Regions from separate parts of the Homo sapiens genome. Here regions 1 and 2 are each linked to region 3. The links are contacts of gene promoters, found by promoter capture Hi-C in human tissues and cell types (Jung and others, 2019). All regions are on one chromosome and are shown on one strand. Each heading gives the region's core, a stretch centred on a gene start or on the middle of the fragment in contact. The rest is flanking DNA. Distances are from core to core; before and after follow the strand shown.

Region 1 (2,700 bases), core at 112-2,611, 660 kb before region 3:
TTTATATGAGCCTAAGATTATTAAATTCATTTTATATATCAAACAAGTTTAGGGTCGATAAAATATATTTCTGAAAACTAAGCAGGAAATGGCAGTCTCGTGGTTAGAGTATTGATGGAGGGCCAGGAGTTTATTTTCACCTCCACCACAAGTTCATGACTCATGTGATCTAGGCAAAATAGTAGATTATTTCTCTTCTCCTTCCTCCACCTGAAAACAAAACAAAAACAAAAACATCGACTTTTTCACCCTTCCAAAGCCCTTTTCCTATTCATCCTTGCTTGCTTCTCTTGTTTCTCCGTTTCCTTTTCTTTCATTTATAGGCCAACCCCAAAGTTTAAGGAGATTGTGGCAAGGTATAAGTCAGACAGGTATTCTTTTCAGATCTTTTAAAACCATAGTATCACAGCAACAACTCTAAAAAAAATGACACAGACAGAACAAACCCGAATAAAAAGTTTGAAATAGATATATTTGACTTTTGCTCAGAATGAGCACAAGGGTTCTGAGAGAGGAGCTGAGGATCCCTAGAACCAGGTGCACAAAAAATATTCTAAAGAATTTCTTCTGAAATCTCAATAGGAAGTCTTCGAAGGTGCCACTGCTCCTAGTATGGGATTACTTCTTAGACTCAAGAGAAAAAATAAATATTAGAAAATAATTATCAAATGAAATACTCCCTGGGCTCAGGATACTCTGGTGCAGCCTGTGTCTATAATTAGGCAAGTAAAACAAATCATGGCAAAATTACTTTAGATTTGTTAAAACCATGTTGGCATTAGTGAACATTTTTACAAGACATGAATTATTTTTATTTTTTAACTGCTTTCTTGATAGTTCAAATGTTTCATTATTTTCTCCCTTACCAGGTTATACACATCTACAAGCAAGGACTGGATGTTCTATGTCATGGATCTCCCAAAACCCCTGGCACCATTGGTTGACGGTCCAAAGTATTTGACTTGCTAAAGAATCTTTCCCTCCTAGAAGTATAAAATTCTACTTTATTTTCCCTATAAAAACAAACAAAATAACTATATATATATGCTGATATTGAACCAGAATTACAAATAATTTGTAATGTCAGATATTTAAATTCTACCTATTTTATAATATTTATTTCACAAAAGTCACAAGACTCACTATGTTATACAATAGAGTTTTCAGAATCACTTTACAGAATCTTCTTTTTTGATTTCTATGTAACAATTGCTATTTTACATTAGCTCTAGTTTGAAACATATAACCTGTAATTTAAATATATAATTGTAAAAGTCCCTTTGCTTGTTTATGAATGTAGGTCATAATGCCAAATATATCATGATTAGTTATTTCCATTTATTGAAATTCCTGGGTTTGTCATAGATAGCTCTTATTATTTTGAGATACATCCCATCAATACCTAATTTATTGAGAGTTTTTAGCATGAAGGGCTGTTGAATTTTGTCAAAGGCCTTTTCTGCATCTATTGAGATAATCATGTGGTTTTTGTCCTTGGTTCTGTTTATATGCTGGGTTATATTTATTGATTTACGTATGTTGAACCAGCCTCGCATCCCAGGGATGAAGCCCACTTGATCATGGTGAATAAGCTTTTTGATGTGCTGCTGGATTTGGTTTGCCAATATTTTATTGAGGATTTTTGCATCGATGTTCATCAGGGATATTTGTCTAAAATTCCTTTTTTTTGTTGTGTCTCTGCCAGGCTTTGGTATCAGGATGATGCTGGCCTCATAAAATGAGTTAGGGAGGATTCCCTCTTTTTCTATTGATTGGAATAGTTTCAGAAGGAATGGTACCAGTTCCTCCTTGTACCTCCCGTAGAATTCGGCTATGAATCCATCTGGTCCTGGACTTTTTTTGGTTGGTAAGCTATTAATTATTGCCTCAATTTCAGAGCCTGTTATTGGTCTATTCAGACCTTCAACTTCTTCCTGGTTTAGTCTTGGGAGGGTGGATGTGTCAAGGAATTTATCCATTTCTTCTAGATTTTCTAGTTTATTTGCATAGAGGTGTTTATACTATTCTCTGATGGTAGTTTGTATTTCTGTGGGATCGGTGGTGATATCCCCTTTATCATTTTTTATTGCTTCTATTTGATTCTTCTCTCTTTTCTTCTTTATTAGTCTTGCTAGTGGTCTATCAATTTTGTTGATCTTTTCAAAAAAGACACATGCACACGTATGTTTATTGCGGCACTATTCACAATAGCAAAGACTTGGAACCAACCCAACTGTCCAACAATGATAGACTGGATTAAGAAAATGTGGCACATATACACCATGGAATACTATGCAGCCATAAAAAATGATGAGTTCATGCCCTTTGTAGGGACATGGATGAAGCTGGAAACCATCATTCTCAGCAAACTATCGCAAGGACAAAAAAACCAAATACCGCATGTTCTCATTCATAGGTGGGAATTGAACAATGAGAACACATGGACACAGGAAGGGGAACATCACACACCGGGGCCTGTTGTGGGGTGGGGGGAGGGGGGAGGGATAGCATTAGGAGATATACCTAATGTTAAATGACAAGTTAATGGGTGCAGCACACCAACATGGCACATGTATACATATGTAACTAACCTGCATGTTGTGCACATGTGCCCTAAAACTTAAAGTATAATTAAAAAAAAAAAAAAGAAGAAATTCCTGGATGGAAGGGTGTCAGAGACAATGAGCCACTAATTACATC
Region 2 (2,700 bases), core at 85-2,584, 730 kb before region 3:
TCTTGCGCATCCGTGTGAAGAGACCACCAACAGGCTTTGTGTGAGTAATAAAGCTTTTTAATCACCTGGGTGCAGGTGAGTCTGAAAGGAGAGTCAGCAAAGGGAGTTAGGGGTGGGGCAGTTTTATAGGATTTGGGTAGGTAGTGGAAAATTACAGTCAAAGGGAGTTGTTCTCCTGTAGGCAGGGGTGGGGGTCACAAGGTGCTTAGTCGGGGAGCTTCTGAGCCAGGAGAAGGAATTTCACAAGGTAATATCATCAGTTAAGGCAGGAATCGGCCATTTTCACTTCTTTTGTGATTCTTCAGTTGCTTCAGGCCATCTGGATGTATACGTGCAGGCTTGGGCTCAAAGGCCTGACATTCCTGTCTTATATTAATAAGAAAAGCAAAACCAGATAGTGGTGAAGTGTTAGGGTGGTGAAAATTTTTGGAGGTGGTATGAAGAGATAATGGGCGATGTTTCTCAGGGCTGCTTTGAGTGGGATTAGGGGCGGTATGGGAACCTAGAGTGGGAGAGATTAAGCTGAAGAAAGATTTTGTGGTAAGGGGTGATATTGTGGGGTTGTTAGAAAGAGCATTTGTTGTGTAGAATGATAGGTGATGGCCTCGATACGGTTTTGTATGAATTGAGAAACTAAACGGAAGACACAAGGACTGAATAAGAGAAGGAGAAAAACAGGTATTAGAGGACTAAGAGTTGGGAGGACCCAGGACATCCAATTAGAGAGTGCCCAAGGAGGTTCAGCATGATTATTTGCTTGGTTGGTGAGTTTTTGGGCCCTATCTTTGAGTTTTTTTTTATGTTGCCATGTACCATGCCAGATTGATTTAGGTAAAAACAACACTTTTCATTTAAAAATATACAGAGTCCTCCTTTTTCAGCAGTAAGTCAAGACCTATTCCCGTCTTATTGTATTAATAATAAGAAAAACAAAACAAGATAGTGGTGAAGTATTGGTGTCATGAGGGGAACAGGAAGCTGTTCGGTAATATTTGCAAACTGATTTTTAGGGGTAAGGAAAACTAGTGTACATGTGCCTGTCTAATTAACAGGTAGACACATGTAGGTAGAGGAGCCACAGAGGAAGAAGAGACCTTGTGTAAGGCAAAACTAGAAATGTAAAGTAGGGGAAAGAATTGGAGTGTGTTTTTTCAGCAAAGGTCATTTATCCACTGTAAGAGGGAGTTAAGAGTGGTGGTTAGGGGATAAGACCAGGACCAGCTATGATGGTTTGGAGAAAAAATATAAGCCAGTAGTGTAGACAAGGGTGGGCACTCATGGATAAGTGAGAACGAAGAATAAGAGTATGACTAGACAGAAGACAGCAAGGATGAAAAGTTTTTAGGATGCAGTTTAAGTAGTAGGGGTGACTGCATAAAGCACTATTGCAAAGAGTAGGGTAAGGATGAATAGACCTAACAAAATGAAAGGATGTATTAGGCTCATAAGGGTCACTACTGTTCTTTAGAAATGTGGGTGACTTTAAGGGAAGTAGGGATAAGTACTTGCGACTTCTAGGAGGAAGAGGAGAGATCAAGCTGGCTGTCTGATGGACACAGCTTTATTCTGGAATGGTAAACCCAGTGGGGAGGGTCCTGCAGGTGGAGGCAGTTGGGGTATTATAGATGACTAAGTAGGGTCTGGTCCAATGAGGTTGTAGAGTTTGAGGGATCGGATTCTTAACAAGAACTGATTCCCACTAGCGTGTCTTTATATGGCTGGGAATCTGGAGTAGGCAAGAGAAGATTAGCAACCTAGCGAATTTCCTATCTAGCCTGCTGGAGGACTGGAAGATAGTCGCCTAGAGGGCTGGTGTCTGGGAAGAGGTTGGGGCTGAGCAAGAAAGTGAATTATGTCTAACAGAAGGGAAGAAATGACTGCAGCGGCCCTCTCAGGCCTTGTGGGAAAAGCCTCTACATATCCAGTGAAAGTGTCTTTCCAGACCAAGAGGTATTTTAGTTTCCTGACTCAGGGCTTTTGAGTAAAGTCAATTTGCCAGCCCGGGGCAGGGGCAAATTTGTTTCAGGACCAAATGTCATGTGCATCTGTGTGAAGAGACCACCAACAGGATTTGTGTGAGCAATAAAGCTTTTTAATCACCTGGGTGCAGGTGGGCTGAGTCCAAAAAGAGTCAGCAAAGGGAGTTAGGGGTGGGACAGTTTTATAGGATTTGGGTAGGTAGTGGAAAATTACAGTCAAAGAGGGTTGTTGTCTTGCAAGCAGGGGCAGGGGTCACAAGGTGCTCAGTGGGGAGCTTCTGAGCCAGGAGAAGGAATTTCACAAGGTAATGTCATCAATTAAGGCAGGAACTGGCCATTTTCACTTCTTTTGTGATTCTTCAGTTGCTTCAGGCCATCTGGATATATGTGCAGGCTTGGGCTCAGAGACCTGATAGAGGGAGGTGAAAGGAACTTCTTACATGGGAGCAGCAAGAGAAAATGAGGAAGACACAAAAGCAGAAAGCCCTGATAAAACCATCAGATCTCGTGAGACTTATTCACTACCACAAGAACAGTATGGGGGAACCACCCCCATGATTCAAATTATCTCCCACCAGGTCCCTTCCACAACACATGGGAATTATGGGAGTACAATTCAACATGAGATTTGGGTGGGAACACAGAGCCAAACCATATCAACTCTTTTGTGACCCAAAATACTCCAGGTGTTCTAAGAGCTCAAGATGGCTAGCAATGACGC
Region 3 (2,700 bases), core at 54-2,553:
GCCTCCTGCTCCTAGGCTGCCGCCGCTGGCTGTGTGCCCTCCACTCCCGGCTCTCCGAGCGCTCGCTGGGCCTCTTCTCTCCCCACGTCCGAGCGCTCGCTGGGCCTCTTTCCTCCCCACCTGCGCGTGGCTGTGCGGAGCCGGTAGCTCTGCTCTGCCCGTGCCCCCGCCCCCACCCCGCGATCACAGCCCCCACCTTGGTGTCCCCTACTCCCCGCCGCAGTCCTCCCGCCGCGCAGCGCCGCGCCGGAGAGCATGGCCGAGCGCACAGCGCCCACTACCGCAGCCGCGGCTCGGCGCAGTCCACCCGCCCGCCCGCGCAACTTCCAGCGGCCGCCTCGCAACTTTTCCCAAGTCCACCACAGCCGCCCGCCGCCGCCGCCACTGTGGCTCCCTCTGAGCCGCCTACCCTACCCAAACCCCAGAAACAAACCGAGGCTCGAAAAGGCTCCCTTCTCCTGCCGGCCCCCCATCCCCCGCGCCCCCCTCCTCCCACACCCGGGACTAGCTGGTTGGCCAGAGGCAACTCTCCCCCGCCTGGGGGGAAGGGGAGGGGAGGGGGAGACTTTCTCCTCTTCTCTTCCCCCCCACCCCACCCCTTCGCGCTCACTCTCGCGCTCTCTCCTCCCTCCCACCCCTAGTCTTTGCTGCCCCCACCCCCACCCCCACCCCGGGGTTGCCACAGCTGGTCGGTGCGCGGGACTGAGGGCTGCCCAGGCTCCTCCGGCGCCCAACCCGGGAGCGAGAGCGCGGGCGACCGGGAGCAGAGACTGGAACCGGCAGGTTGCTGGGGCTGCGCTCCGCCTGCCCTCCACCCGGGGCCCCGGCGCAAGAGGCAGCCCGCGCTCCCTCCCGGAGCGCTAGAGACAGATATGCAAGATGGCAGAGGAGGGGGAAAAGCCAATAGAAAAGGGATATTGCACCTACTTGTGGCCAGTTTCCTTGCCCTGCCTTTGGATCTCATGCTGTGCCCAGTCCTGCAGCCGCTGGTGTGTGGTTGGGGCTTTTTTTTCTTGGATCCTTTCCTTCTTTTGCTCTCCCTCTCGCTCCCTCCCTCTCTCTCCTGTCTCTCTCTCTCTCTCTCTCTCTCTCTCTCTCTCTCTCTCTCTCTCTCTCTCTCTCCCTCCCTCCTGTTTCTCTCCTGTTTCTCTCTCTCTTCCACACACTCACTCTCTGTATTTTCTTCTTTCACTCTCTCTCCCTCCCTCTCTCCCTTTCTCTCAATCCACACTCGCTATCTCTCCAGCATTGTCAGTTTGGACACCTTCGCACATGCGCGCTAGACGCCCCTCCAACATCTCAGCGCCGCCAAAAAAAGTTTGGAGCGATTTATCACTTTGATTTGGAGATCTTGTCAGATGGCAATCGCCGAGGAGGCGGAGAAAGGGAGCCGCGGGGAGGGCGGCGGGGGGCGGGGAGCGAACGCAGGGAGCCAGAGGGGAGCAGACACCTCGCCCAAAAAAAGGGGAGGGGGGAATTGAAAAGGCTTGGGCAGAGGATTGATTCCATGTTAGAATCGCCAACAAGCTTGTATCATGATTATTGTTATTGTTTTTCCCACCATAAATTGCAGACATTTTTCTATACCATCTACGAGGGAAGCAAGAAGCCAGGGGGGAAAAAAACTTTAAAAACATTTTTTAAAAACCCTTCTCCTGTTAAAGAACTAGAAGGGCTGGACCCTCGGCTAATAATCCAGGAGAAAGTGAGAATCATCCTGAACTTGAGAAATCTACTGCTGCCGCTGCTACTGCTACTGAAGCTATTGCAGCTTCCGCTTTCAGGGTTGTAAGCAGAATAAATAACTGGTTTTTTCCTCGATTTTAGCTGTAATACCAATGCTTGCTGCCATCCTTGGGACATTTCAGTATTCTTTCCCTACCAAGTAGTAATGATCACCCTTGATTCCCGGGTCCGGGCCGGCGCTGGCATTTGACATCCAAAGACCTCCTGCTTTCTCAGAGGTCGGCTGTCACCTTCCGGCCTCCCCCACTGCTGCCCCGGTCGCCTCCCGATGCAGCTCTGCTTGCCTGCCATTTTCACTCACTCGCTTAAACCTACAACCTCGGGGTCAAAAGAAAGAGGAGTAGGGAGGAAAATCACACACTCTTAAAAAAATACATTGTTGAAATTTCCTTTAATTACAGGATTTACCAATGAAGTGCCACTCAGAAATGGGAATTCCTAAAGGGGCTAGCTGTGTACAAGGTATGAATCAATCCCAACTAGGTATAGATTTTCTTTTGGTACAACCTTCTTGCATTAAACAGTTTTGTTCAATACCTTCCATGTGCTATTTATGTCCCCATTAATATCTGTTGCAAATCCTGCCAGACACCATAAAAGAAAATTACAATCTTTTCAGTCTCCGTGCTGCAACAATACATCCTTGATGTTCAAGTTAAAGGAAAAGAAAAGCAGGTCCTGGGCATGAGTTTGGCAAAGGCTGTGGAGGGAAAGGGGAATCATTGAGAATGCCCAGTCGTACCTGTTGGTATTTATTATCAAATCTAGGACTGCAGACATGAGAGAGCAAATAACAAGGTTCAACCCCAAAGGGTATCAATGGCCTGCAAATCTCTTTATTCAAGAGAATCAAAGTTCAAAGAATTTGTCCTTGTTAAGGATGCCTACCATTTTCCTTTATCCAGAGCTGTGTAATTCTGGGGGCATTTGGCTGTAAGATAGAGGTCCCTGGAG

Evidence for each region. The method cuts DNA at HindIII sites, captures the fragments that hold promoters and counts their contacts. A contact is called where the count stands out against the background at its distance.
Region 1: a fragment that was not itself captured here is called in contact with the fragment with the promoter of MECOM in region 3 in 1 of the 25 tissues and cell types used here (dorsolateral prefrontal cortex).
Region 2: a fragment that was not itself captured here is called in contact with the fragment with the promoter of MECOM in region 3 in 1 of the 25 tissues and cell types used here (H1 embryonic stem cells).

What each region holds. Positions count from the first base shown.
Region 1 is chr3:169,004,290-169,006,989 of GRCh38, forward strand. LINC01997 (long intergenic non-protein coding RNA 1997) reads left to right here. Exons shown (of 3, transcript XR_924689.3): 2 at 870-989; 3 at 1,706-2,654. Among named protein-coding and RNA genes, the nearest start is that of LINC01997, 2.6 kb to the left of the region's middle. The HindIII fragment of the contact is 4,556 bases long and covers 1-2,700 here.
Region 2 is chr3:168,930,922-168,933,621 of GRCh38, forward strand. No RefSeq gene overlaps it. Among named protein-coding and RNA genes, the nearest start is that of LINC02082, 30 kb to the left of the region's middle. The HindIII fragment of the contact is 5,448 bases long and covers 1-2,700 here.
Region 3 is chr3:169,662,409-169,665,108 of GRCh38, forward strand. MECOM (MDS1 and EVI1 complex locus) reads right to left here and starts at 1,304. Exons shown (of 17, transcript NM_004991.4): 1 at 928-1,304. The coding sequence starts at 964. RefSeq lists a silencer at 196-295. The HindIII fragment of the contact is 10,305 bases long and covers 1-2,700 here.